Regions from separate parts of the Homo sapiens genome. Here all the other regions are linked to region 1. The links are contacts of gene promoters, found by promoter capture Hi-C in blood cells and fetal thymus (Javierre and others, 2016). All regions are on one chromosome and are shown on one strand. The core of a region is centred on a gene start or on the middle of the fragment in contact, and the rest is flanking DNA. Distances in the headings are between cores, read along the strand shown. Region 1 holds the start of GABBR2 (gamma-aminobutyric acid type B receptor subunit 2). Region 2 overlaps GABBR2 (gamma-aminobutyric acid type B receptor subunit 2). Region 3 overlaps GABBR2 (gamma-aminobutyric acid type B receptor subunit 2). Region 4 overlaps GABBR2 (gamma-aminobutyric acid type B receptor subunit 2). Region 5 overlaps GABBR2 (gamma-aminobutyric acid type B receptor subunit 2).

Region 1 (5,914 bases), core at 1,726-4,225:
CCTCCCACGGTTGCTGTTTCATGTGCCCTCCCAGTGCTGAGGCCCCATACAGTCCTACCTGCCTTTGACCTTGGATCTGATTGCTTTCCCTTTGCCCACTCTGCTCTACCACATTGGCTTCCACATTGTTCCTTGAACATGCCAGGCACACTCCTGTCTCGGAGCCTCTGCCCTTGCTGTTCCTCTGCATGGAACACTATTCGCCTGTCTCTCTTACTTACCTTCTTTATGTCTTTGCTGAGGAGTCACCTTAGTGTGTCTTTCCCTGACCTCCCTATTTCAAATTGCAGCCCCACTCTGCCAGTCTCAATCCTCTTTCCTGCTTTTTTGTTCACCATAGCACTTTTCATAAATGGGCATACTAACATATCTTCTTCTTCCTATTTATTGTTTCTCTTTCTCCACTAGAATGTCAATTCTACAAGGGCAGGGATTTTGTTCTGGTTTTTTCCTTCCTATATCATCAGCTCCTAGGACAGTGCCTAGCAGGTAGCATGCCCTTCAAAACACTGGTCAAAGGAATGAATGATTATTATAAAGCAAGACGCTGGACCCCAGCTCTGGAGGAACATGCATTCTAGGCTGGTGACTGAGGCAGGAACTCAGACTCAGGAAGCACATCAGGGATGCAGTTACCCAAACTGTAATACCAGGCCAGAGTAAGATCTTGGAACCAGAGGGATGCCCAGGCATTAGGAGTGGGCTGTGAGATCAGAGATTGGCCTGGAGCCATGCTGATGGAGAGTGAGATTGGTGCCCCCTGGGTCAGGGCAGATCCCAGGTCATGCGTCTTGGGGCCAGGTCACCCCACCATAAAAGAAGACAGAGGGGCTGTAGGGCAGGATGCCAGGTAGGGCCTTCAACCCCTTAGTAAATGTCAGGCAAAGTTACCCAGCTTTCAACTTATTCCCAGATGTAGGTGTCAGTGGACACTCTATATTGGCACAGCTTGCAAGGAGGACACAAATGACTAAAGGAAAGAATTAGAAAAAAGAAAAAAACCAAGTGAAAATGTTCATTCAGAAACCTGAGCTAAGGGTTTGAGGAATGGCAGGTGCCAGAAGACTATGACTGGAGGATATTTGTGATGTCAAGTGAGACAGCAGTTGAGCGAGTATCTGGGGATTACACTGTCCTTTGGACCATTTCTTTCCCTCCCTCCCTTCCTTCCTCCCTTCCTGGAGGAGATGCTCAGGTGAGTTCTGTTCATGCAAACCCTCCAGCTTGGGGAAAAGGAAATGCCAAGTGGAGCCGGGAGAGGTGGAGTCTATAGAAGCCTGGAAAGAGAAGTTAGGGCAGAGAGAATTTGGCCTGGTTTCCCTGGCGCTGTCCAAGGTACTCTCTAGTAGTTCTGCTCAGCCTCCACTCACATCTTTGTGCTTCCTAACAACTCAGCCTGGATTCAGAGCTGCCCTTGCCTCACTCCAGTAGAGCTGGTGTGTGGCCATCATCATCATCATCCGGTCCAAATCCCTCACCATATGCCGGAGGGAATCGATGTCCAGAGCAACTGAGTCAGGGCAGTGCTCCTCCTGGAGAGGAAACTTGCAGTCCCACATCCCTGGCTCCCACTGCACTGTGCACGGAGTTCCTGCTGGCTCTGGGTTCCGGTCCTTCAGTAGCTCTGTGTGCTTCCACTAGCTACAGAACCTCTCTGAGCACCAGTGTATTCGCCTGTAAAGTAAGGGTGAGTAACACAGTATGCTTACAGGGCAGTTGTGGGGATTACATCATAAGGCACACAGTAAGTACTCAGCGAAGGTCAAACTTCCATTCTTGTTACAAGGTCGTCGATATCTTCCACAGTCCCTGGTTCAGGCTCAAGTATGTTTTGTGATTTGATGTCCTACTGTGTTCCTCGCATTAATCAGCCCCTGGGACTTTATAGATTAATGATCACGTTTCCTATTCTTGAAGTATGCAGAGGCACAAGGAACCCAAGGTCTTAGGTCAGCTCACTCGGGTACATCTGGCTCGGGACTGCTTTGGCTAAGATTGGCCAGTGCGACCTGGCAGAGAGAGGGCCAAGTCCAGGGGCGCGCGGCCCCGCCCTGGCCTGAGGATAGTGCTCCCACCCCGGGAGACTTCTAGGGCGGGGCCCATCAAGAATGGGGACGCGGGGAGGTCAAATGCCTGGAGGGGGCGGTAGCGCACGTAAGGTTGGGACCCCAGCTTTGCTTGGGGTTGGCAAAGGGCGGTCGCTCCGTCTGGTGGGGAGGAAAGGGGTGTCCTCAGCCAAGGCCCTAAAGGCCGGGCAGCCTGGCACCAACGGGCGTTCGAGCACCCGTGGGCGTCTTCAGCGACCCCCGGGACTCGGTCAGGGGCTCGTGGGCGCCAGAAAAGAACGGGAGAGCGTAGGCTGCAGATGCCTCTGGGACGCCTTCGTGGAACATTCTCCTGCCCAGACCTTCCCGGCCAGACCTCCGAGAAGCGGTTCCAAACCACCGTGCAGGTGCTACAGGCAGCGCTCGGCGGAGCGGCGGCGGCCACTGCGTGTGCCAGCGCGCGGTCCCGGTTCCCAGATCGCTGTCCCCGGGCGCTCTGGTGCCTGGAGGTCAGCGGTCGGCGGGCAGCGGCAGCTGGCGCAGCGGAGGGCCGGGGGCGCGTGTGTGCGTGTGCTGGGAAGGTGGCCCTCCCCGCGGCCGCCGCAGCGCCAGCGCCTCCCCCTCCCCCGGCGCGCACGGCTCGTCCCCGTCCCTGGAGGCGGCCCGAGCCGCCCCTGAGCAGCCTCGCCTTCGCCTCCCGCGTTTCCTGCCGTCCGCCCTCCCCCGGCCGAGCTCCAGGGGCTGCCGCCTAGCAGCTCCCGGCGGGAGAGCGGTTCAGAGCGCGCACGGGGGCGGGCGGAGGCGGCCCGGTGCGGGGCGGCCGCGCTGGAGAGAGGCGCGCGCGGAGACGCCGGCCCCCCTCTCCGCGTTTGCTCGCTTGCTCCCCGCCTCCCGCACTCCGCTCGCTCCCACCCCTTCCCGGCGTGATTGATCCGTCACGGGCGCCGCCGCTGCCGCCGCCGCCGCCGCGGCCGTTCTGAGCCGAGCCGGAACCCTAGCCCGAGACGGAGCCGGGGCCCGGGCCGGCGCCATTGCGCGGGCGCCGCGGGAAGACCTTGGCGCGGGGCGGCGGGCCGGGCCAGGCCATGCGGGCCGAGTGAGCCGGCGCCCGCAGCCCGCGGCGCGGCATGGCTTCCCCGCGGAGCTCCGGGCAGCCCGGGCCGCCGCCGCCGCCGCCACCGCCGCCCGCGCGCCTGCTACTGCTACTGCTGCTGCCGCTGCTGCTGCCTCTGGCGCCCGGGGCCTGGGGCTGGGCGCGGGGCGCCCCCCGGCCGCCGCCCAGCAGCCCGCCGCTCTCCATCATGGGCCTCATGCCGCTCACCAAGGAGGTGGCCAAGGGCAGCATCGGGCGCGGTGTGCTCCCCGCCGTGGAACTGGCCATCGAGCAGATCCGCAACGAGTCACTCCTGCGCCCCTACTTCCTCGACCTGCGGCTCTATGACACGGAGGTGAGTGTCCGGCTGCCCCTGCCGTCGGGGCTTCGGGGGGCATTGGGGTGGGTGGTTTGGACACAGGCAACCTCCGGCCTTTGGTCAGATCCCCGATTGACCGGCCCGCGCCTGCCGAGGGCAGAGAGGGCTGGTGCCCAGTGTTCACCCCCGCGGTCCTGCTGGGCTTGGCTGGCACAGCTGGTAACATTTGCCAAGCACCCCCTCCTCTGGTCTTATGTGTGTATGTGTGTGTGGGGAGGGGTGGGGGTGGGATAGAAGACTGGGGTCTCTTTTGACCAGAGAAAAAGGAGTGGAGAAGGTGGGGGCTGGACCCCCAAAGGCCTACATTGATTGTCCCTGTCCAGGTCCCGCTCATGGGGCTGCGAGGTACCGAGTGGGAGGAACAGGCGCATTGACTGCAAACTGGGCCACCCAGGGCCGGAGGGGCCGCGGGCCTGCTCACAGGCCCCCAGGGAAGCCGAGCCGCGCTTTGAGGTCCGGAAGGCTCCGGAACCCAAGGGGCTTGAGCGTGCAGCGTGGCTGGGCGCCTGGTGCGCGCCAGCAGCTCTGAGCCCGCTCCGCGCGGGCAAGTGTGGGGCCACCGGCTCTGCAGCGCTTCTGCCTGGACGTGCCCGGCGCTGCCTGTGGCCAGAGCGATTTCAGGAGACCCCTGCCTCGGGTTAGTTGCTCAGAAAGTGCCCTGGCAGTTCTCGTCCCGGACGTGCAGTGGTGTCCGGCCGCGCCGCTGCTGTTGGCCGGGCGGCTGCAGGCAGTTTCTCACGGCTCAGGCTTGAAGCATCCGACCTAGCAGCCGGAGCACAGACTTGGAGAGCAGTCCGGAGCGGAGCCAGAGAGCCAAGGGCTTTCCATCCCAAGACCCCTCCCCACGCCCTCGGTTTGGGTTCTGCCTGAAGCCCCAGAGCGGACCTTCACCGCCAGGCCGGGGCTGGAGCGCGCGGAGCGGGTCTGGAGGAGCGATCGCTGGCCGCGCAAGGTCGGGTTTGCGAGTTTTTCCGGACCGAGCGAGCCCCTGTGCTCCGACCGCAGCGTCTGAGACGCGGCCTGAAGGGGGCAGTGATTTCCTGTGCAGTACGCTCGGTTGGCGCCTCTTCCATCGCGCGGAACGGGGCCGAGGCGCTGGGCTTGATCCTGGCTTCCTGGGACTCTCCGGGCGCTTCTGCTGGAGTCCAGGTGCAGAACCCTTTTGGGAGGAGGGTCGCGCTACTGCTCTGGTGGTGCAATCTGGGCTTCCCCTCCTCCTTGGTCGGACCCTCTTTATGTCCCCAGAGAAAGAGCAGAATCTAGATTGTATCTTATTCCCTGCCTCCCCCGCTTCACCGGTGAACCAGCTTGCTCTGCGCTGTAAATAAAAGGTGAAGGAACCGGTGGCAGTTGGCAGCGGTACGCGCAGGCTGCTGCAGGCGGAGAGGCGTCCTCTGCCCCAGAGGATGCAAGCTGGCTGGCTGTGCAGGGCTAACCCGGTGTGAAATCATTTCCGAATGACATTCCTATCGCCCTCGTCTTTGCCTGAGCATCTCAAGTTCTGTGGGGGTACTTGTCTGGCACACATAAATGGAGACAGCAATGCAGTTACACGGAGGCATATCTTCTTGACAGTTTCTCTGTTGCTACTGCACATATTCTTCTGGAGGGGTCACTGCAAAGCCGGTCTTTTGGGGACAAACACATTTTTAGATAGGGCAGCCCTGCTTGCATCATCACCAAGTATTGTCAGCTGCATAATGTTTTCATCATCAGTTTCTTCCCTTTAGAAAGCTTCCCTGAAAGAGATTTCATACTGGCCTGTTTGTGGCAGCAAAGAGATGGGTGCTTCGTTTCAGGGTGTGGGTTGAAGCCTTTACATTTTATTTTTCGAGTGTGTCTTGATGACTTTCTGAGTGAAAGGACCCAAAGTCAAGAGGATGAGACAGTCAGAAGACTCTTCAATTCGTGGGAATATTTAGAAAACAGTGGGAAGGAAGACAGAAGATAATTTTAGCTTCGTGCAAACAGAGAAGTGTCTCTAGCCTTTTGAAGGGGCCCAGAGCCAGGGCTTTGGGGTAGGTGGGGCCTGGGTTTTAGTGAGAAACTGGTTACTTTCCACCCTGGATGACCTTGAGCTGGGTATTTAATCTCTCTAAGCCTAGGTGGGAATATTATGTGTACTCTGCAGGTGACACACAGCTTAAGGAAGATAACAGGCCAGGGTAGAAGATGCCCTGAGCTGGCAGGCTCAGCGGCCAGTGCTCTGGCATGCTGTAAGCACTAAATAAATGTGTCCTGCTGCCTCCCCTCCTCCTCCTCCTTCTTTTTTTTTTTTTTTTTGTTTTTTTTGTTTTGTTTTGTTTTTGTTTTTTTGAGATAGAGTTTTGCTCTTGTTGCCCAGGCTGGAGTGCATTGGCGTGATCTTGGCTCACCGCAACCTCCACCTCCCAGGGT
Region 2 (5,914 bases), core at 1,663-4,162, 370 kb after region 1:
TTTAGGTGTCATAGCTAAGAAACTATTGTCTGATCCAAGCTCATGAAGATTTACACTTATGTCTTCTTCTAAGAGTTTTATACTATTTGTTCTTACATTTAGGTATTTGATCCATTCTGAGTTAGTTTTTGTACATGGTATGAGGTAGTGATCCAAATTAATTATTTTGCACGTGGATATATAGCTGTGCAAGCACCACTTGTTTGTTTTGGTTTTTTCGAGACGGAGTTTCACTCTGTCGCCCAGGCTGGAGTACAGTGGCACAATCTCAGCTCACTGCAAACTCCTCCTCCCAGGTTCAAGCAATTCTCCTGCCTCAGCCTCCCGAGTAACTGGGATTACAGGCACCCACCACCATGCCTGGCTAATTTTTGTTTTTTTAGTAGAGACTAAAAAAATAGGCTCTTGGCCAGCCTGGTCTCAAACTCCTGACCTCAGCCTCCCAAAGTGCTGGGATTATAGGCGTGAGCTACCGCCCCTGGACACCACTTGTTGAAAAGAATATCCTTTCCCCATTGAATAGTCTTGTAACCCATGTTGAAAATCAGCTGACCATGGATGTGTACTTGTATTTCTGGATTCTCAATTCTATTCCACCAATTTATATGTCTATCCTTATGCCAACACCATGCTGACTTGATTATTGTAGCTTTGTGGCAATTAAAATTGGAAGTGTGAGTCTTCTGATTTTTTTCTTCTCTTGCAAGATTGTTTTAGCTATGCAGGGTCCCTTGAGATTCCATATGATTTATACGATCAGTTTTTTCATGTCTGTAAAAAAGGCTGTTGGGATTTTCATAAGCGTTGATTTGAGTTTGTAGATAATATGGGGAGTATTGCCATCTTAAGAATATTGTCTTCCAATTCATGAACATGGGCTATCTTTTCATTTATTTAGGTCTTCTTTAATTTCTTTCAGCAATTTTTTTTTCTTCCGAGATGGAGTCTCACTCTGTCACCCAGGCGGGAGTGCATTGGTGCAATCTTGGCTCACTGCAACCTCCGCCTCCCGGGTTCAAGCGATTCTCGTGCCTCGGCCTCCTGAGTAGCTGAGGTTACAGGCACCCACCACCATGCCTGGCTAATTTTTGTATTTTTAGTAGAGACAGGGTTTCACTATGTTGTCCAGGCTGGTCTTCAACTCCTGACCTCAGGTAATCCACCTGTCTTGGCCTCCCAAAGTGCTGGGATTACAGGTGTGAGCCACTGAACCCAGCCTTCTTGGTGGATTCTTTAGAATTTTCTACCCATAAGATTATATAATTTGCAAATAGAGAGTTTTGCTCCTTTCATTCCAATTTGTATGCTTCATATTCCATTTTCCTGAATAGCCAAAAAATTCTCGGATAGACTTTCAACCTACTTATATCTTTGAATCAAAAGTGAGTCACATATACAGCAAATATAGTCAGATCATGTTTTTTTTAATTCATTCTGCCAATCTCTGCATTTCAATTGGAGTGTTTAATCCATTTTATGTAATTACTGGAAAGGCAGGATTTACATCTGCCATTCTGGAAGATACTTTTTTGTTTTTGAGACAGAGTCTCCCTCTGTCGCTCAGGCTGGAGTCAGTGGCGTGATCTTGGCTCACTGCAACCTCTGCCTCCTGGGTTCAAGCGATTCTCCTGCCTCAGCCTCCCGAGTAGCTGGGACTACAGGCACATGCCACCATGCCTGGCTAATTTTTGTATTTTTTAGTAGAGACGGGGTTTCACCATATTGGCCAGGCTGGTCTCAAACTCCTGACTTTGTGATCCACCCGCCTTGGCCTCCCAAAGTGCTGGGATTATAGGCATGAGCCACTGCGCCCAGCCAGATATCTTTTTTAAACGCACGACGTATCTTACTATTTTGCACTTAAAATTCTCCAATTTAAAATAAAACCCACACTTCTTACCTTGCTACAGGTCCTACACAATCCAGTCCCACTCCATATCTGACTTCATCTAGTTCCTCTCCCTGTGCTCACCCCAGTCTTTAGCCATGTGGGCCTTCTGTCTGGAGCTCTAACACTCCAACTTTATTCCCAACTTTGTGCCTTTGCATTCATGATTCTTCTGCCTGGAACGCTCTTCCTCCAAACCTTTTCAGACTCTTTCCTGTCATTCAGATCTAGCTTAAATGCCACCTCCCTGATCACCAGATCCTTAAATGTCCCCCAACATTCTTTCTCACCTCCCCTGTTTCTCCATCACATTGCTTATTCCTCGTTCTCTCATCTATATTCTATCATCCACTAGAATGTGAGCCCCATGAAACAGGGCCCTTAACTATCTTACTCAGAGCTCTTTCTCCATGGCCTTGCACAGGGCCAGACAGACACACAGCTCAATATATGTTGGTTGAATGGATGAGTGAATGAATGAACAAAGGAATGCGTGCATGAATGAATGGATGATGGACAAGCTTCCCTGGCATGATTCTTGTCAGCACTGACAACAGCTGAGTAGGTAATGTGGTTGCTCAGTAGCTGGATTGAACTATTGGATGAATATGTTGATACTAAAAAGAAAAATAAGTAATGTTTTAAAGGTGAAGAGGAAGTTTGGTTGTTGTTGTTGTTGTTGTTGTTGAATGATTTCAAAGAGAAACTTGACTCGTGGTTCTCAATCCTGCTACATCACCCAGAAAAGATCTTTTTGAAAATACCGGCCCGGGTCACACCCCCCAAAATATCTGATTTAACTGGCTTAGAAAGGGCCCTGTGCATCAGGAATTTTTTAAAGTTGCCATGGGTTCTGGTGTGCAGCCGGAGTTGAGATTCTCTGGTCCAGACTCTCACGAATCTCTAGGAAGGGCCCAAGACTGTACCTTGGATACCAGGGTGATAAATAGACTCAGGACAATAAATTTTTACGACTAGAAAGTAAAAGAAGAAAAGGCTGAATCCAGAAAATCTGAAGTCCAGTTGGTCCCTGCCAGCCAGAGATGATGATGATGACAAAAGAATTACAGACTCAGAGAGAGGCCCACCTGGGGAGTTCATGTGTGCAGACCCCAAAGAGCTACGCAGGCCCTCTGGTCTCATATTTTTCTGAAAATCTTTGTGTTAGCATTTGAACAATTGTTTCTCCAGTGGAAGAGAGAGAGCAAGGAAGAGGAAAAAAGGGAGGTTTCTATGAGGTTTCTATTTCTGCAGCATTGTTCATTGCAATGGGAAGACAGAGGGTGAGCAAGTTCCACACCAGAACTTTAGGCAGGTTTGTTTCTAAGTGCTCTACAATCACAAGGAAACCACTGACCACAGAAACCAACAGGGAAGAAAAAAGGACAAGGGAACCACAGTGTCCAGGCACCTCAGCACTCATGGTGGCTCGGAAAGGAACCGCCAGCCCTGTGGTGGGATGTTCATTCTTTTCTGCCCTTGTTTAGCTTGAAGTTTCTCCCTAAAGCGATAGTGGATTAAGCTTCAAATACTGAGTTGTTTTGTCCTTGACAAAGGATGAAACATTTAACATGCCCCAAAGATGCTCTGTTCATGTCAGAGGAGGCTGAGACAACCTGTGAACCACCCCTTAGGGGACAGCAGCCAGAAGAAACACGATCATTGCTGGTCCTGCCCAAATCTCACTTCCCAGCCCACCCACCCATACTCTTGCCCTTCTCTGGACTGGTACCCCAACTCCAGGCTTACCCTACTCACATGCAAGCACCCAATAGTAAGCAAACACGTACTATAATAATGACAACAGTGTCTCACATTTCAACAGCATGGCAAAGTTCACAAAGCACCTTGACATCCCCATTTTAGAGATTCATCAGAGGAAACTAAAGCTGAGTAGGTGACCTGACTGGCCTGAGATAACCTTGCTTGCTACGCATGAGAACTGGAACCCAGCCCAAGCCTTGTGGTATTGGATGAGTCAGTATCCCTTCCACTGGGATTGATCCATTCACACTTCCTGCTTCTTTTTGCATCCGTCCCTTTGTTTTCTTTTTCTTCATTGATGCTTTCAAAATTATTAGCTTCCAATTGTGCATAATGTTCTCTTACAAATGCTTAAATCTCTTTCACATCTGTGATTATCTGGTTGATGGTTCATGAGAGTGAACAGATATTCAAATCCAGCAAGTTTAGATCTGAGAGCTTCACCTTCCAGTCCCGCTTCATCCTTAGTACTAGATCTACTCAGCCTTCTTCTAGGATTTCAACAAAGCTGCATTGTCTTAGGAGTAACAATAGCAAAAATAATCATAGCAACAGCTTTTCTTGAGTGCATGCTATGTGGTAAGCACTGTTCCAAGTTCTTTGCTTTATCAACTCATTCAGTCTTCACAACAACCCCATGTGGGAATTACCATTATTATCCCCAGTCTACAGATGAGGAAACTGAGGCACAGAGGGGTTAAATAACATGCCCATGGTCACACAGCTGGTAAATATACAACATGTAGCCCTTAGTGGTTAAGCAAGTAGACTCTGGAGCTAGGCTTAACTCCAAATCCCAGTTCAGCCACTTACTGTGTGAAGTTAGGTTAGTGTACTGGGCTGAATTGTCATTCCCCCTAAACGATATATGCATCCTTACCCCTGGACCTGTGAAATGTGGCCTTATTTGCTAAAGGGGTCTTTGCAGATGTCATTATGTTAAGGGTCTTCAGAAGAAATCATTTTGGATTACCCGGATGGGCCCTAAACTCGATGACAGGTGTCCTTATAAAAAATACACATAGAGGGACACAGACACAGGGGAGAAGGCCATGCGGAGATGGAGGCAGAATGATGCAGCCACAGCATGGAATGCCTGGGGCCACCGGGAGCTGGAGAAGACATGGCAGGATTCTTCTCTTGAGCCTTCAGAAGGAGCACAGCCCAACGGACATCTTGACTTTGGACTTCTGGCCTCCAGAACTGTGCAAGGATTAATTGTCTATTGTTTTAAGCCGCCCAATTTATGGTAGTTTGTTACAACAGCTCTAGAAAATGAGTATCATTTCTGAGGGCTTCAGCCTTAAAATGGGCCTAGATAGGAGAAGTGCCCACTTTACTGAGCTTTGGGGAGGACTAGAAGGGATGCCTGTAAGATTTGCCCACACCCAGCACCTGGAGAGCACTTGATGAAGGTTAGCCCTCATACAGAGCATCATTTATTACCCGGCCTTTGGCTGCTCTGCCCTGAACCCTTGCAGAGCCCACGGAAGCCAGCCCTTCACATTGCCATCTTCTTGTGTCTGACTCGTTGCCACTGGGACCCCTGAGCCCAGCCCAGCGTGTTCCTGGCTCAGGAATCTCAGAGGAATCAAATCTGACTCCCAGACCCAGGCTGCAGAGGCCTCTCTGAGCCATTATTACCAGGGCTGCCAGAGCGAGACTATGAACATCCACATGTGGCGTTTTAATATTTTACCCAAGAAGTCATTTTCTTCCACGATTCAGACACAGAAGACTCGAAGAATTAAAGTGAGAAAGGTACTCAGGGCCTGCATGATTTCCGCCAATGGGCGTGGAGGATTTTCCTGTGTCTGTTCAGGCTCTTTCTTTCTTATCTGCGTCTTACAGCAGACGGGAAGCCAGCTGACGAGAGATTGCATGTTCATACCAATTATTAAAAATATATGGCAGGCTTCTGGAAATGCATTCACATGCCAAGGAAATAGAATGCAGTCACCAGCCCAGGCCCCTGCACTGTGTGCTTTGGAGGAACAGTGCGGCATCTGTAAACACAATGATACAAGGTTTTGGACCAGATTCTGCCACCTCCCAGCTGCGTGACCTTGGGTGAGTGACTTAACCTCTCTGAGCCCCAGTGCCCATAGGGGAAGTTCATTCCTCCCTCACAGGTTTACTGTGAGCGTCATTAACTGAGATAACATGTTCAAGTACCTAGTTCTGAGCCTGGCACATAGAAGGAGGTCAATCAGTCTGATTTGTTTCCACTCCCTGCCCCAGAATTTCCTGACTCCCTAAGAA
Region 3 (5,914 bases), core at 930-3,429, 350 kb after region 1:
TGGGCAGCTCTTAGCAGTTTTACAGGCTTTCTTAAACCTTTGTTCATTGGCCACAGATCTGGGAAGTGAGTAGGGCAGGGAAATGTTCTCCCCTTCTACAGATGAGGAGAAAAAAGTAGAATAATGGGCAGACTGAGGGCCCAGGAGATCAAGAAATAAGAGCAGGGTGAGTCAGGCAGAGTTTGTGGAAGGCCTGGAGCTGGACCAGGTGGACAGAACGAGGCACAGTGGCTCAGTGTGGAGCCCAACAGTGGGCTAGGGAGGCTGAATGGCTGCCGCCTCTATTCTAGATGAAGGTGGGAGCTGAGTATTTACGAGAGGTTCCCAAGGCTCCAGCTGTGGTGGGGAGACACCAGCAGTGCCAGAGTCAACAGACTCTGGAAGTGGGGATGCCTGTCCTACTGGACCGTTTAAACAAGGTAAACCTGTGCAGTCTGATGTGTCTAGCTGATGGTTTGCTATCATGGCTCTTACCTGCCTTCCTTCTATTCTGTAATAAGCACTGCTGCTATCAATGGCTCTGTGCATAGAACCCTAGCACATTCCAGACTTTCCAAGGCTATGGTTCTCAAACTGAGGAGTCCCAGGGTGCTGCAGAAGTGCCTTTCTGTGTAGATAAGGAAACAGAGCCTGGAAAGGTGCTATCCAGGGCCCAGGGTCACCCAGATTGTCCAAGGCAAGGCCCAGATAGGCTGTTCCTGTGTCTCCCTGCAGGGTGTGCTGAGATTTCTCTCAGAACCTTTTCTGGCAGGTGCCTACTTTTCTTCTTTTATTTTAGGGTTGGCCTGTCCCTCTGTTGCTATGGTAACAGAACCCTTTGATCTGTCCACCCACAGCCCTGTTTATTGTCGTTTTTCTACAAACAGCACCAAGCCGTTGGTTTCTCTCAGACCCTCCTCTGTCAGACACAACAGGGTAGTTGAACAGTGTGCCCAGGGCCTGAGGTATCCTAAAGTCTCCTTCAAGGGGCTGTTTTGTCCAGGATCTCCAAACAGAAAGCCTAGGCTTGGGGGAGAGATGATGAAAGACCTTTGTGGCCCATCCCTCCCTCCCACTTACCTACTTCAGACACCCTGTGTGCTCCGGACTCTGAGCACCTGAGGATTCCAGGTATGGGCCTTGTAATATGGTACGCGTCCTAGCCTTTGCTCATGCTGTGTCCCCTTCCAGAATCTTCTCTGCCAAGTATATGACTTCAGTTTCAGCACCAGTGTTACCTCCTATGGAGAGGTGTCCCTGTGTTCACTGGCTCCGCTGGAGTCGAGAACCTGCTCTGCCTCACTTCCTCCCCCAGCATCCCAAACATTCCCCAGTCAGGACTCCCAGCAAGCAACTTCTCCAGGACAGGGCCATGTCTCAGCCAGCCTCCACACAGCCCACCCAGCAAGCACGCCACGGCCGGCATCTTCCATGGGAAGACACAGGTAGCCATGGCAGCCACAGCCTCATGGCAGCCTGCAGGCAAATCAGGGAGCAGACTAAACCTGCAGACGAATAACCGTATCACTTCAGATCACTGTCGACTCTGAAAGCAGTGAGAGGGAAATAAACAGAACCCAGGGCTTGAGAATAACAGGAAGGACCCATGGAAGCAATTCACCCTGAGAGAGCATACTCAAGGGTCCTTGGAATGCAAGTCCCCTAGAGGCCTACTGGGGGCAGCCCAGTCCCCCATCCTTATTCATTTCTGTGCCATAAATATTGATCGATTTATTTTATTTTATTTTATTTTTTTGGAGACAGAGTCTCACTCTGTCACCTAGGCTGGAGTGCAGTGGCATGATCTTGGCTCGCTGCTCAACCTCCATCTCCTGGGTTCAAGTGATTCTCATGCCTCAGCCTCCCAAGTAGCTGGGACTACAGGTGTGCACCACCATGCCTGACTAAATTTTGTATTCTTAGTAGAGATAGGCTTTCACCGTGTTGTCCAGGCTGGTCTCAAACTCCTGGCCTCAATTGATCCACCTGCCTCAGCCTCCCAAAGTGCTGGGATTATAGGTGTGAGCCACCTCGCCCAGCCATTTATATGTCATAAGTACTTCTGTAGCACTCGTCATGTGCCAGGTACTGTTCTAAATGCTTTACAAATATGAACTCATTTAATTTAATCTTTATAATAATCCTGTGAGGTAGGAGATATTTTTGCCCCCATTTTATAGATGAGGAAACTGAGACACAGAGACCTTCAGTGACTGGCCCAGGTCACTCAGCCAGTGAGTGGCAGAGCCTGGATTCCACCCCAGGTGGTCTGCTTTCAACCATGTTGCCACCCAACCCCACATACGGGTGGAAAGGGTCCCTGAGGCAGGGGATGGAGGTCCTGACTTCTGGTTTCACCGCCTCTTTCCTCTCTCAGGGGCTACACACAGTCCCTCTCAGGGCAGGCTGACTGTGTGGCTGTGGTCCTGGAGCCTGACTCCATGACGCCCCTGCCACTGCCAAGCCTCCAGCTATGGCTCAGCACCCCACAGCCTCCTCATGCCCCAAAGTGATTCCAGCCTCACTCTCACCTTTTTCACCAGCTATGCATCAGGCCCTGTGAGGGACTCCAGAGAGACAGCAGTGAATGAGATGTGGCCCTTCCTTCAAGGACCCCTTAGAGCAGTTAGGAAGACAGACAAGTCAGTGGCTAACTCACAACCCTCATGGTACAGGGTGCTGTGGAGCCCGAGGAGGGACGCCAGTCTGGCCTCATAGGGTCAAAGAAGACTTTTCAGCTGAAAGCCAAGGAGGCCTGAGCTGGTATGGGAGCACTCAGGCAGAGGCCGCTGCATTTAGAGAGCAGGCAGTGTGTCCAGTGAACCAAGTGCTGAGAGGACACAGGCAGCAAACACAACACACAGTGCTACTCCAGTGTACATTGGCACAACCACTTGGAAAACTATTTGACATGAGTCATGTCAAAGATGCACATGCCCCACAGCCCAGCTATTCCACTAGGACACATCCCTAGGGGAAGTCTCACACATATGCCCAAGGAGACCCAAGCCTGGGTGTTCACAGCAGCACTGTTTATAACAGCCAAAAACTGATAGCATCCTAAATGGCCCACAGGAACAGAATGGATACGTGCACTATGGTATTTTCAAAGAAAGGAAGGCTATACAGCTGTGGGAATGAATGAGCCACAGCCATACACATCAGTTTGGAGGCATCTCAACAACACAGCAATGAGCAAAAACAGCAAGTCACGCATGAATACCCAAAACAGGCTTTCACACGCTTCAAGTTCAAACACTGGAGAAACTGAACAGAATATTGTTTAAGGATACATACATAGGTAGCAAAACCATTTTTTAAAAAAAGAAGAAGGCAATTTTTAACACAGAATTCAAGATTGTGGTTACTTCTTGGTGGGCAGGATAGGAGGATATGATTGAGACAGGCACACAGGTCCTGTAAGGCTCTGGCAATTCTGTTCTTCAAATTGTACATATACATTATATCTCCTCTTCAGAAACTATGATGTGGGGTTTTTTTTTTTGTTGTTGTTTTTTGTTTGTTTGTCTGTTTTGTTTTGTTTTGAGACAGGATCTCACTCTGTTACCCAGACTGGAGTGCAATGGCAAGATCACGGCTCACTGCACCTCCCCTGGCTCAGGTGATCCCCCAGCCTCAGCCCCCCAAGTAGCTGGGACTACAGGCATGCGCCACCACACCCCATTAATTTTTGTATTTTTTGTAAAGACGGAGTTTCCTCATGTTGTCTAGACTGGTCTCCAATTCCTGGGCTCAAATATTCCACCTGCCCTGGCCTCCCAAAGTGCCGCGATGACAGGAATGAGCCACCATGCCCAGCAGATGTATTTAATTTTTTAAATTTTATTTATACTTACTTAATAGACTTTATTTCTTAGGGTAGTTTTAGGTTTACAGAAAAAGTTAACAGAAGTACAAAGAGTTCTCATGTACCCTCCACCCACCCCCACAATTTCCTGTTATTAATATCTTGCATTGTCTGGTACATTTTTTCAAATGATGAACCAATGTTGATACATTATTCGTCACTACAGTCCATAGTTTACATTAGGGTTCACTGTTCTACGGGCTTTGCCAAATGCATGTCATGTAGTCACCATTACAATATCATACAGAGTAGATTCACTGTTCTAAATATCCTCTGTGCTTTACTAATCCTTGACAACCACGGATCCATAGTTTTTCCTTTTCCAGAATGTCATATAGTTAGAATCACAGAGTATGTAGCCTTTTTAGACTGGCTTCTTTCATTTAGTAATATGCATTTAAGGTTCCTACATATATTTTTGTGGTTTGATAGCTCATTTCTTTTTATCAGTGAATAATATCCTATTTCCTGGTAGCTCATTTCTTTTTATCACTGAATAATGTCCTATTTCCTGGATGTACCACAGATTGTTTATTCATTCACCCACCGAAGGGCATCTTAGTTGCTTCCAAGTTTTGGCAATTATACATAAGGCTGCTACAAACTTTCATGTGTGAGTTTTTGTGTGGACATAAATTTTCAATTCATTTGGATAAATACCCAGGAGTGCAAGTTATGATTATATGGTAAGAGGATGTTTAGTTTTGTAAGAAACTACCAAACCGTCTTCCAAAGTGACTATACCGTTTTGCAAACCCACGAGCAATGAATGGGAGTTCCTGTTGCTCCACATCCTTGCCTGCATTTGGTGTCGTCAGTGTTTTGGATTTTAGCCATTCTAATAGGTGTGTGCTTGTATCTCATTGTTATAATTTGCAATTCCCCAGTGACATATGATGTTGAGCATCTTTTCATATGCTTATTTGCCATCTAGTGAGAAGACTGTTCAGAACTTTTGTGCACTTTTTAAATAGGTTGTTTTCTTATTGTTGAATTTTAAGAGGTCCTTGTATATTTTGGATGCAAGTCCTTTATTAGATATGTGTTTCATAAATATTTTCTCTCAGTTTGTCTTATTCTCTTACATTGTCTTTTTCAGAGCAGGAGTTTTAAATTTTAATGAAATCGAGCTTATTACTTTTTTCTTTCATGGATCATACTTTTGATGTATCAAAACACTCATTGCCAAACACAAAGTTACCTTGATTTTTTTCTGTTATGTTTTATGGTTTTACATTTAACATTTAGGCCTGTGACCCATTTTGAGTAAAATTTTGTGAAAGGTGTAAGGTCTATGTCTAGACTCCTTTTGCGTGTTGTCCAGTTGTTCCAGCACTGTTTGCTGAAAAGACGATCTTTTCTCCATTGTATTACCTTTGCATCTTTGTGATAGATCAGTTGACTGTGTTTGTGTGGGTGTATTTCTGAGCTCCCTGTTCCATTACATTGATCTATTATTTCATCAATCCCACCCTATGTTGGTTAGCATAGCTTTATAGTAAGTCTTAAAGTCAGGGAATGTCACTTCTCCAACTTTGTTCTTTAATGTTGTGTGAGATCTTCTGGGTCTTTTGCCACTCATGTAAACTTTGGAATTAGTTTGTTGATATCCACAAAATAATCTGCTGGGATTTTTATTGGGATTACACTGAATGTATAGATCAAGTTGGGAAGTATTGACATCTTACCAATACTGAGTTTTCTGATCTATGAACGTGAAATATTTCTCCATTTATTTAGATCTTTTTTTATTTTCTTTCATTAGAGTATTGTGGATTTCCTCATGTAGATGTTTTACCTAATTTGTTAGATTTATACCTATTTCATTTCATTTGGGTGCTAATGTAAATGGGATTGCGTTTTTAATTTCAAATTTCAATTGCTCATTTCTGGTCCAGGCATACCTCACTTTATTGCACTTTGCAGATTTTACATTTTTTACAAATTGAAATTTATGGCAACCTTACATTGAGCAAATCTATAAGCACCATTTTTTCTGATAGCGTTTACTCACTTTGTGTCTCGGTGTCACATGTTGATAATTTTCATAACATTTCAATCTTTTTA
Region 4 (5,914 bases), core at 1,037-3,536, 300 kb after region 1:
TCCAGTATTAATAATCGCATTGTACAGTTAATGAATTGCTGTGAGATCAGTGGCGTTTGGGCTAATGTGGCATTTCTCTTTTATTCTTGTTTGATTTGTTTTGTTTTGTTTTTAGGGTCAAGTTGTATTCCGGAATGGGGAGAGAATGGGGACCATTAAATTTACTCAATTTCAAGGTAGGCATTTTGATGCTTATTCTTTCTAGCTGATAAAATTTAGATTCAGGAATGTTGTTTTATGCAATATAATACATCAAAAGGAATGCAAGTGTGATGTTCCAGATAAAAGAAAGCAGAGCCAATTGAAAACACTTTTCTGAAAACATTAGTTTCAACCTATTTGGAATATTTTTTTCTCAGCCGCATCATGATCAGCCCTCCATCTCCATGGGTTCCACGTCTGTTGATTCAGCCAGCTGAAGACTGAAACTATTCAGGAAAAAAATGGATGATTCCGTCTGTACCAAATACATACAGACTTTTTTTTCTTGTCGTTATTCCCTAAACAATAGAGTATAACAACTATTTACATTTTATTAGGCATTGTAAGAAATCTAGAGATGATTTAAAGTATATGGGAGGATGTGTGTAGTGTATAGGCAAATACTACCCCATTTTATATCAGGGACTTGGTCGTTGGGGGATTTTGGAATCCTCAAGGGATCCTGGAACCAATCCTCCATGGATCCCTAGGGATAACTGTGCTTCCCTGGCCTATTCTGCCTTCCCGCATGACTCTAAAAGGTTTATGAGATTATGAGTGGTGGGGATTAAGTTAGTATTCTGAGGACCTTTGCATTGTTGTGGGGTTTGGGGTGTTTTTTGTAGAGAAAGGGTCTCAGTATGTTGCCCTGGCTGGAGTGCAGTGGCAATCCACAGATGCGTTCATAGCATACTGCAGCCTCGAACTCCTGGGCCCAAGCAGTCCTCCCACCTCAGCCTCCTAAGTAGCTGGGACCACAGACATGCAACAGTGGCACCCACCTGTTTTTGGTTTTGATTTTAGAGATGTTCAAACAGACTCTAAAGTAGAGAGAACAGCATCATGAACCCCCATGTGCCCAATAGGCAGTTTCAATCATTATCGACATTTTGCCAATCTTCTTTCATTTTGACTCACCCCATCCCCCCTTTTTTTGCTGTAGTGTTTTAAAGCAGCTCCTAGACACGATCTCATCTCATTCTATAAATACTTCAGTATGCATTTTTTTGGATAGGGAGGTTTTATAATATAATCACGGTACTATTATCACACCTAAAACATTAAACAATTCTTAATATCGTTTAATTTCCCAGTCTGTGTGGATCCCCTGATCATCTCAACGATGTCTTCACAGATGATTTGTTGGAAAATCCACACAAATTCCACCCATTGCATCTGCTTGAAGTATCTCTTTAGTCTCTTTTCATCTATTATAACCCACCACTTTTTACAGAACATTTATTTTTTGAAGAAACCGGGTCATGCGTTGAACTTTCTGTTGCTGTCAGAAGGGCCTCAGAAACCATCCAGACCAATTTCTTTGTGTGATGAGGGAAAAACGGAGGTGCAGACAAGGGCCATGTGAGGAGCATCCTTGAGGAACAGGGCTGGGCATTCCTTGAGGCAGACCAGTACAGCCATTAGCGGGGTGATTAGCCAAAACGACTAGATGAACCTCTCATCAATACAGTGTTCTTGAGCAGCCGAGTGTTTCTGGAAAACCCAGAAACAAGAGTGGTGCCTGCTGTGCCCACTCACTTTGAGCAGATCCCAGCGCCATCCAGGGGAAAGCAAGAAATTAAAGTGAGTTATTCAGATTCATTCAGACAAATCCCACCAGGATTCAGATCAATCAGGAGAGGTGTTCTTCAGCGCTATCGCTCTGTAATGCAATCTTGTAGACATACCCATTCGTCTTTCTGTGGCAGGTAATTGAAACGCGTGTCAGCTCTCTGGCGTGCACAAAAGATGTAATTTTAGGCAAACGTAATTATTTTTCCATTTGTTAAATTTTACTTCTTCATTGGTTGAACAAAGTAAGCATCTTGGCAAAGATACTTACTTTTTTTTTTTTTGAGTGATTGCAACTAAATTCTCTTGTCTCATTTCCAGTTCTCAAAATTATATCATTCTAAGAAAGTATTTTGTAAAATAAGGATTGGCTGATCACAGCTACCAGTGCATGCCAATTGTATTGCCTTTTTTTTTTCATACGTTAGGTTTAAACACCAGCTTCAGTCACTATTTAGGCATATCTGGATTTATAAGGAAGGCAGTACAGCAAACAGCAGTTCAGAGCTTGCGCTTTGTGGGTCGACCCACCCGAGATCCAGTCACTTCCTCACTGTAGAATTTCAGGCAAGCGACTTCGCCTCTCTGAGCCTTGATTGTCCTCATCTGTAAAATAGGAGTATAATCCTAACTACCTTCATGGAATATGGGAAAAACTAAATGAGAAAGTATGTGTATATTTAACTATACATACAATATATTTATATATATGTATATATATATATATTTTTTTTTTTCTCAGCAAGTAAGTAGCAATTATGATTAGCACCTTGTCAACATTATGACACCTTTCTGGGGCAAATTCAGGTTTCCCTGAAGTGCTGAAACCCCCTGGCTGCTTTTTTGTCTGCCATTTACCCCTAATAGCGGCTCCCTGCACTTAGTGATGTATAGGAGGTGATACAAGGCAGGGCCTTAGCGATGATCTCATTCCAGAATTCATGGTATAAATGGGGAAACTGAGGTCCAGGGATGAGTAGTGTCTCCCAGGGACACACAGCTGGCTAGTGGCAGAGCAGGGACTGGACCTCAGCTTGCTCTTCTGCACATTCCCACGGACACCCAGGCACAAGTGTGCTCCCCTCACCCTCTCTGCATTTGTGTCCAGCTTTTCTTGAGGGTCACAGCTGGGCCTTCAATAAAGGCCAGATGCTCCTGTTTACATGATTTTTTTTTTTTTTTTTTTTTTTGAGACGGAGTCTCACTGTGTCACCCAGGCTGGAGTGCAGTGGCACAATCTCGGCTCACTGCAACCTCTGCCTCCTGGGTTCGAGTGATTCTTCTGCCTCAGCCTCCCGAGTAGCTGGGACTACAGGCTCGTGCCACCATGCCCAGCTAATTTTTGTATTTTTAGTAGAGATGGGGTTTCACCATATTGGCCAGGCTGGTCTCGAACTCCTGACCTCGCAGTCTGCCCACCTCGGCCTCCCAAAGTGCTGAGATTACAGGCGTGAGCCACTGCGCCTGGCCTACATGTTTTTTTAAACAGACATTGATCCTCTTGCTCCAATAGAGGGACCTTGTGTTATTTTAGGACTGAAATGAGCCACCAGAATGCAGGGGGCATATGCGTATCAACACAACAGTTGGTTTTCCAAATGTAAAGGGTTTCAGAGGTGCCTTATCTACCAGGATGGATTATTGAATAGGCCGTCCAAGCTGTGCGATGAGCCATCCAGGGAGTTAACGCCTCCAGGAGCAGCCCTGTGTCAGTGATGGATGAGAAGGGGAGGATAAATACCCCAGCATCCTTTCCCCTTGGGTGAGGCAACTCCCAGGTGTGTTTGGCTCTTTTCCCAGAGCTCCCACAGTAGGACTGAGCCTCGGTTGCCCACAAAGAAACCTGCTCACTCATGCACCTTGTCCTGGCTCCCTTCCCTGCCTCACTTCCCCACACCACTAACAGCGCATCCTAGGATCACCTTCCAAATAAACTGCATGCCTTCTTCCCCTCATCTCAGGCAGGTGCTATTCTTAGGGAGCCACCCTTGGCCGTAGGTAAGGCAGGTATTAGCATCCTGTTGGGCACACACCTCAGGCCTGAACCCCTTTCATCTCCAGATTCCATGCTCCTCCCTGATGCCATGGCTGATTTTCACGACACCACGTGTAGATGAGGATGAATACTAGAGAATTGGCTTTTTTCCCCTTAAGAGAAAAAAAGTATCCATGTTACTGCCGAAGTCTAAACATGGCTCTGAATTTGCAGCAGGGAAGGAAGTTGAGTGAAGCCGTGATTAGAGCCTTGTTTATGCTGTTCTTAGAGAAAACTCAGCATCTGCCGCTCCAACTCACCGACCCTGCCTTCATTAGGCCTATTTGTAAGAATCTCGGGGAATGATAATGTGCTTGAATTTCACACTGCTTCTATGCAACATAAAGGGCTCAGGCTTTGGAGTTTTATATTTTGGCACCTGATTTGAAGGGAAGGGGTCTTCCTTCACTCTAACGACATAATTGTCATTCAGAACGTACCTAGTGAAAGGGAGACTTGTCCTTCCCAATTGCAGACATTAATTACCATTTGGTCTTCAGGGTAACAGATACGGTTGTATTCAGTGCGCATTTCCTGAGCATCTGCCAGGCGCTTTACCAAGTCCTCTGGAGAAAACCAAGTTGAATAAGATACAGTCCCCGATCCTCCAGGGCTTCATAATCTCTCTGGCCGAATGCCAGTGCTTATGAAAGCAGGAAGATTATTTCCCAGAACCTACTAGAATACTTTCAGGGCTAGTTTGACCCTACTTTGAGACTCTTGAGGCTGATTTTTAATAACCTTTTCCTCTGTCAAGGCCTGCAATTGTAGCTCGCTTCACCAAGTCATGGGTCTGGAAAGGCCATTTCGTCAGACTGTCACTCAACTTGATATAATTAAAGAGTGGAGTCATAGTCCATAATCCTTCAGGATATACCAGCAGGGTTGTGGACAAGCAGGAACCAGGGGACACACGGAAATGTGGACTCTTTTCCAGCTTGACCCTAGCCTCGACACCTCCCAGCCCTCATGTTCCAGGATTTGCCTTTCAGGGAGCCTAAGAAAGGTGGCCCAAAAGACAGCATATTTTACAGGTATTGGGTTTCATTGAGCCATCGACTCTCCATGTTGAAGGGAGCCCTGATTCTCTTATACAACATTCCCACTGCTTGAATGCCTCCAGTGATGGGGAACTCATTCCCTCTCATGTGGAAAGTATATAGGCTTGAAGCAGACATGCCTGATCATTGACAGATAGGCAAAGAAGCTTAGTCTCTTTGAGCCTTCATTTCAGTTAAAAATAAGTAAATAAATAAAAGATGATCATTTTCCTTGCCTTGAGAGTGACTGAGAACCTGATGATGTGAGGCTGTGATGTTCCTGTCTCGGGGACTGGCACAGAGAAGGGTCATAACAACTGTTGGCTTCCTTCTCTCTTGGGCACTCTTAACAGTGACCCCAGATTTACACTCTCCCCCGAGGAATTTCTTGAGAAAAGTGCAGTCGCGCTTCTTTAGGACACAATTCGCACACCTCATTTCATGGGCAGTCATTGTCGTTGGTCCATGAAAGTCCCTCTTGTGTGTCCATTTATCCCCCTTATTTCCCTCCTTTATTCCCATATCCCACTCCTACCTCCCCCAAGGAAAGGCAAACACCCCATATTGTGTTTGTGTGTGTGCTTGCAAGATGCGTGTTGCTCCGTACATCAGTGCCACTGGCTTAGGTATCTTTTCTGTTCTGTTTTGTTTTTTCCACTCAACACTTTGTTTCTAAAGACATCTCCATGGTCCTGGGTGTGCTTCTAGGCATGGCTCCTCCCTGCTCCCTGCAGGAGCCATGGTGGGGTGCATCCATCACTTCACCCATCCAGGCCCCTGGGACGGACACCCAGGTCACTTTCAACTCTCCACCCTCACAAATAATACATGTCCTTATATATGTTCCCTTATGGACCCAACTGGGAATTTCCTTAGGACAGGTTTCCAAGAGCAGAATTGCTGAGTCAGAATCTGTGTGCACATTGAACATGCCCAAAACCTGCCAGGTTGCTCTGCAGAATGGCCTTGCCCATATCCACACCCACTGGCAGAGGATTCCTGTGTCCCTACCTACCACCCACATTTGGGATTTCCTGGATCCCTCATTTTTTGACGGTCTAAAAGT
Region 5 (5,914 bases), core at 1,661-4,160, 280 kb after region 1:
GCAGACATCCAGCCTGGGGTCCTCTCCTCGGGCTCACACTGCCCACTCTAGCCTTTATGAGTGGTGGTGACCAGACTGGAGGCCATGGGATTTATCTGACATGTCCTGGGTTGGACAGTCAGTGGGCCTCACGTGGGGCTGAGTTCTGTGCCTCAATTCATCTGTAGGATAGAGGAGATGGTGCCTGGCATGGTCAAAGAGACCCTCAGAGTGCTCAGGACTCGGGACTCCAAAATAATGGAAAAGAAAAGGTTTATGATGAGAACCAACATTTACTAAGCTCCTGAAGTACTAAATTTCCTCGGAACAAGCCCTGTGAGGGAGACACGATTAGGACCATCTTATAGAAGAGGAAACTGAAGATCAATGGGTTGTGTAGCTTGTCAAATTCATGCAGGTGGGAAATGCCAGGATCCTGGTTTGTGTGCTGGGGTCAGCCACCTCTAATGCTCTGTTTGTTTTATACCCCTCTTCCACCTTCCCACCCACCTCAGTGGGATTTTTAGAACCAAAGTTTGCACTGTCATGCCAGCCGTGTTTCTACAGAGAGATATATACAGCGATCATCTTCAACTCCTCCCTTCCATCTGCCAAGCCCTGCTGACTCCACCCCCGTGAAATCCCAACCACCACCCCTTTTTCTCTGTCCCCTCTGCCGCTCATTCATTCTGGCTCATTCTCACACTCACCATATTAGCCTTCCTAAATAATCTCTGGCCATGGTACTCCTTATTAAAAACCTTCCTTGAGCCGGGTGCAGTGACTCACGCCTATAATCCTAGCACTTTGGGAGGCCAAGGCAGTGGATCACTTTGAGATCAGGAGTTCAAAACTAGCCTGGCCAACATGGTGAAACCCTGTCTCTACTAAAAATACAAAAATTAGCTGGGCGTGGTAGCACATGCCTGTAGTCCCAGCTACTTGGGAGGCTGAGGCACAAGAATCACTTGAACCCAGGAGGCAGAGGTTGCAGTGAGCCGAGATCACACCACTACACACCAGCCTGGGCAGCAGAACGAGACTCCATCTCAAAAAATAGTGATAATAAAATAAAAATAGTGATAATAAAATAAATACAAAATTAGCTGGGCATGGTGGCAGGTGCCTGTAATCCCAGCTACTTGGGAGGCTGAGGCAGGAGAATTGCTTGAACCTGGGAGGTGGAGGTTGCAGTGAGATGAGATTGCACCACTGCATTTCAGCCTGGGTGATAGAGTGAGACTCTATCAAAAAAACAAAACAAAACAAAACAAAAAAAAACAGACAAAACCTTCCATGGCTCCCCACTGCCTGTAGGATATAGCCTGGCATTTTAGGAACTCCACCACCAGGCCATACTTGTGTTTCCAGCTATTTCTCTGAATTCTGCTCTTACCCAGGAGGCATACTAGCTACTCTCCCACACATGCATCAGAATTTCCAAACTTCATAACTGTGCTTATGTGGGTTTTTTTTTCTATCACCTTTTCCATCATTTATTTATTCAACGAATAATTTTTGAGAACTTACTATGTGCCAAGTACTGCCCTAGGAGCTAGGAATACAGCTGTGAACAAAACCAAAATGAATCCCTTTCTTCAGAGAGTTTACAGTCTAGTGCCAGGAGCAAACAATCAGTTCTTGCCATATTAAATGAGAAAAGTATACAGGTTGTCAGAAGACAATGGTTGCTATTCCAAAAGAAAGAAAGAAAGATGTGTAGGAGGATGAGGAGGATTGGAAATGCTACCAGTGGATGGCGAGAAGAGAGTTTTAAACAGGCTGGCCAGAGAAGGCCACATTGGGAAGGTAACATTTGAGAAAAGCATTGAAGGAGGTGAGGGAATGAGTTGTGCAAGCGAGTAGGTAAGAGTGAGCCAAGCAGATAAGCAGCCAGCCAAAGTCCAGGTGAGAGTATCTGGAGTTCTGGAGTTGGGGGCTTCCACTTCCCACTTCCAACCAAGATGGAGGAGTAATAGGGACCAGATTTACCCTCCTGCTGTAAACAAGTTAAAGAAAAAAAAAAAACAGTCCAAATACTATGTGAAATGACAGTTTTCAGACATGGGCTACAAGCAGCAGAGGACAGTGACCCCTGAGAGGAGGAGCACAAAGGAAGTGAATCTTACAATCGCCCAGATGACCATCTGGAGGGTTTCCAGCACAGGAAGGGGGAACCCAAACAGAGCCTGGCAGTCTTGCTGAGTTGCAGAGACAGAGATGAGAATTCAGAGACAAAGGAGGCAGAAGTTTGCAGGCAGAGCACTGGAGAAGAGAGAGCTGCATGGAGAGGGAGAACTATGCAGGTCTGCTCACACCCTCAGCTGAGTACTTACTGGCACATGTACAGAGGAAAGCACTTGAGACCAGGGAAAGAACCAGCAGAAAGGAAAAGACAGGCAGAAGGATCCTCAGAGCTCAGGCAGGCCTGGGAATAGTTCATGTTCCCACCACGTTGGGTGGGAAAAAGTTTAATAAATCACAAGGAGAATACTCAGAAGGGGGTCATCTCAGGAGTGGGGTGAAATGAACCCTAGACTAAAGGCAGCTCTGGTCCCACCTAAAAAAGCTTAAAAGCAAGACTCGAAAGGGTCAAACTCCTTCCAAGTAACTTAATTATGTCCCAGACAGAACTTAAGAATATTTCAAGGAACTTTTTTTTTTTTTTTTTTTTTTGAGACGGAGTCTCGCTCTGTCGCCAGGCTGGAGTACAGTGGCATGATCTTGGCTCACTGCAATCTCCACCTCCCGGGTTCAAGCGATTCCCCTGCCTCAGCCTCCTAAGTAGCTGGGACTACAGATGTGCACCACCAAGCCCGGCTAATTTTTTTATTTTTATTTTAGTAGAGACAGGGTTTCACCATGTTGGCCAGGATGGTGTTGATCTCCTGACCTTGTGATCCACCCGCCTCGGCCTCCCAAAGGGCTGGGATTACAGGCATGAGCCACCACGCCCAGCCTCAAGGAGTATTTTTAAAAGCTAACACCCAATGAAGGGTCTGACATCCAGTGAAAAATTACCAGGCAGGCAAAGAAGTTGGAGTGTGTGGGCATGACAAGGAAGCCAGTGTGGCTGGAATGGTATCAGCAAGGGGGAGGGAAGTTGGAGACAATGTCAGAGAAATCTAGATTGCATCATCCCAGTAAGCTACTTAAAAGGACTGTGGCCAACTCAGAAGTCAAGAGAAGACATCTGTTTTCTCGCCTCCCCTTCCAGACTGAAAAGCTCCCCTGCTTTGTTCTGAAGTCCCTGGGAAGACACTGAGTGAATGGCTTGTCCTCAACAAGCTTTGGTCCTGTCTTCCTGTAATCCACTGCCTGCAAGATGTGTGACCTTGGAAAATCTTCCTAACCACCATGCCTTGTTTGCTTGTTTGACTAAAATTAATCATAGTGTATCGCCTACTTCTAAGGAGAGTTTGAAGCAGTTCTCAATAAAAGGCATGTACGTAGCGAGGTCACTGACATAGAAGTCAGAAATCTAAAACCATAAAATGTGATGACAAAAATATATACCAAAATCCGGCCAGGCGTGGTGGCTCATGCCTGTAATCCCAGCACTTTGGGAGGCTGAGGTGGGCGGATCACTTGAGGTCAGGAGTCCAAGACCAGCCTGGCCAGCATGGTGAAACCCGGTCCTCTACTAAAAATACAACAATTGGCTGGGCATGGTGGTGCATGCCTGTGATCCCAGCTACTCAAGAGGCTAATGCAGGAGGATCGCTTGAACTCGGGAGGTGGAGGTTGCAGTGAGCCGAGATTGCACCACTGCACTCCAGCCTGGGCAGCGGAGCAACACTTTGTCTCAAACACACACACACACACACACACACACACACACACCAAAAACCTGGGTGAGTTTTTAATTTAATCATGAAATAAAATGAACTGGTTGCCATGTGATAAAGCGAAATGAACCTCAGTCTCTTCCTCTGTAAAATGAAATCAATGGTCTTTGCCAACCTACCCAGAAAGCTGCCTCAAGGATCACCAAAGATGTGGATGAGAATGTATCATTCAGGACTCTTTTGGTGCAAGTGATAGGAAACTGTACTTAAGCAAAGGAGCAGTAAAGTCTAGGATGAGGTTTCTCCAGCTCTCCATCTCTGGGTCTGCTTTCTCCTGGGCCAGGTCCATTCTAGGCCTATGCACAGTTGCTTCTGCTTTTCATCATGTCAGCACCAAGTCCAGCAAAAAAGGGAACCCATTTTCCTTATAGCACCAGCAAAATCCCTGCTAGTCCCGTTAGTTTTGATTGGCTGGCTGACTTGGGTCATGTGCCCATTTCTGAACCAATCACATAGCTAGAATAGTCTGTATTGATTGGCTTAGTTCCAGTCATGTGATCCATCCCTGCATAGAGCCATCTTCACAGAACTTCAAGGCTGAGCATGGGGCCAAGTGGGTCTCTCTGTGTTGTCTCTCTACTTTTCTTCTTCCTTACACGCATTTTCTCCCCTGCTCTGGTGCTCTAGGAGGCTGATCCCATGATGACATCCCCTGTCTTCTGGTTTCTGGTTCAATATAGGCAAGAGATTGGAGTCCAGGAGGAAGGAGATTGGTCAGGTGCAGCCTTTGCCTTCCTCCCTGCTTTGGAGCTGCGTCTCCTGAAATACCTGTGCCCCTCCATGGCTGTGGCTTCTCCTTCTTGTCTCCCACTTTGTTGAATCTCCAGTGACACTATTTCCTCCTTCCGTTCTGAGGTATGGTAGCAACTCCTGCCATTGCTGGTCCATGGGCACATCACCTTCCCTTGTCTACTCCCTCAATCTGCCCCCTACCCTGCGAGTAGTTTTTAATAAAGTCTCTTCTTTTGAGCCATCCAGGATGAATTATGTTTCCTCCTGTGGCCCTGTATTAGTTATCTGTTAAGTCGTAACAAATGATCCCAAAGTGTAGTGGCTTAAAACAACAATACATGTTTATTATCTCACATAGTTTCTGTGGGTTAGGAATTCAGGAGTGACTTAGCTGTAAGGTTCTGGCTTGGGGTCTCTCGGATAATACAGGCAAGATGTCAGTGGGGACTGCAGTCATTCTAAGGCTCACTAGTGCTGGGAGGTTTGCTTTCAAGATGTCTCCCACAAATGGCTGGCAAGTGGATGCTGGCTATCAACAGGACTCAGTTCCTCAGGACCCCTCCACAGGGCTGCTTGAGTGTCTTCATGATACGGTGGCTGGCTTTCACCAGCATGAGTAATCCACAGGGCTGCTTGAGTGTCTTCATGATACGGTGGCTGGCTTTCACCAGCATGAGTAATCCAAAAGAAAACAACTGAGGCTGCGGCATCTTTTTATGACCTACTCTTGGAAAGTACACACTGCCATTTCTCTAGACATATCCTACAAGTTACACGGGCCAGCCCTATTCAATGTGGAAGGGGATGATGGAATTTGGTAGTGACCGCCAGGAGGCAAGAGTCATTTGGGGCCACCTTAGAGTGTGGTTATCAAAGACCCTGGCTGACATAGTCTCTCAATTAAAACCATCCAAAGGGGGATGGGTTGCTGAGCAAGAAAAATAAATGTGCACTCTGAAGTGCATTGGCAGCTATAAACCAGGTACAAGTCCTGTAAATATAAGAAACTGTGACTCTTGAATTCTCTAGCAGTTCACGTAAGTTGACCAGAGGGCTTAGAAGAGCCATAGTAAATGGGAATGAGGACGCCCCCAAGCCCAGGCCAGAGGTGGGAGGGGAAAGGAGAGAACCCAAGTGGTTCATTGATTCATCTTCCCCAGCTTCTCCTGACCTCACTCCAGCCCTACAAACAGCCTAAGACACTCAACTGTGTTTGTTCATAGTCTGCTCCTGACATCTCACAGCCTTCATTCTGGTTTCTGCCGCTAGAAGAACCTCCTGACCCTCCTCAGGCAAACACTGGGACCATCAAAGCAGCAGCCCTGCCTTCCATTTCTCTTTCCTTTTTTGCTAAC

What was found. Contacts are between HindIII fragments. The CHiCAGO score rates a contact against its expected background, and 5 or more counts as called.
Region 2: a fragment that was not itself captured here is called in contact with the fragment with the promoter of GABBR2 in region 1 in 6 of 17 cell types (M2 macrophages, M1 macrophages, endothelial precursors and 3 more); the score reaches 12.1 in M2 macrophages.
Region 3: a contact is called between a fragment that was not itself captured here and the fragment with the promoter of GABBR2 in region 1, in 1 of 17 cell types (M1 macrophages). The highest score is 5.2, in M1 macrophages.
Region 4: a contact is called between a fragment that was not itself captured here and the fragment with the promoter of GABBR2 in region 1, in 6 of 17 cell types (M2 macrophages, endothelial precursors, M1 macrophages and 3 more). The highest score is 8.2, in M2 macrophages.
Region 5: a fragment that was not itself captured here is called in contact with the fragment with the promoter of GABBR2 in region 1 in 1 of 17 cell types (M1 macrophages); the score reaches 5.2 in M1 macrophages.

Annotation. Positions count from the first base shown.
Region 1 is chr9:98,705,996-98,711,909 of GRCh38, reverse strand. It overlaps GABBR2 (gamma-aminobutyric acid type B receptor subunit 2), which reads left to right and starts at 2,975. Exons shown (of 19, transcript NM_005458.8): 1 at 2,975-3,493. The coding sequence starts at 3,173. RefSeq lists enhancers at 1,589-1,883, 3,636-4,206, 4,778-5,349. The HindIII fragment of the contact is 8,458 bases long and covers 1-5,253 here.
Region 2 is chr9:98,332,327-98,338,240 of GRCh38, reverse strand. The region is part of intron 13 of GABBR2 (gamma-aminobutyric acid type B receptor subunit 2); the gene reads left to right. Among named protein-coding and RNA genes, the nearest start is that of TBC1D2, 80 kb to the right of the region's middle. RefSeq lists a cis regulatory region at 5,486-5,503 and an enhancer at 5,423-5,567. The HindIII fragment of the contact is 1,001 bases long and covers 2,412-3,412 here.
Region 3 is chr9:98,355,252-98,361,165 of GRCh38, reverse strand. The region is part of intron 13 of GABBR2 (gamma-aminobutyric acid type B receptor subunit 2); the gene reads left to right. Among named protein-coding and RNA genes, the nearest start is that of TBC1D2, 100 kb to the right of the region's middle. RefSeq lists an enhancer at 875-1,375. The HindIII fragment of the contact is 8,075 bases long and covers 1-5,914 here.
Region 4 is chr9:98,400,343-98,406,256 of GRCh38, reverse strand. It overlaps GABBR2 (gamma-aminobutyric acid type B receptor subunit 2), which reads left to right. Exons shown (of 19, transcript NM_005458.8): 8 at 116-176. Among named protein-coding and RNA genes, the nearest start is that of TBC1D2, 150 kb to the right of the region's middle. RefSeq lists an enhancer at 4,010-4,511. The HindIII fragment of the contact is 5,462 bases long and covers 1-5,017 here.
Region 5 is chr9:98,427,030-98,432,943 of GRCh38, reverse strand. The region is part of intron 7 of GABBR2 (gamma-aminobutyric acid type B receptor subunit 2); the gene reads left to right. Among named protein-coding and RNA genes, the nearest start is that of TBC1D2, 170 kb to the right of the region's middle. The HindIII fragment of the contact is 719 bases long and covers 2,551-3,269 here.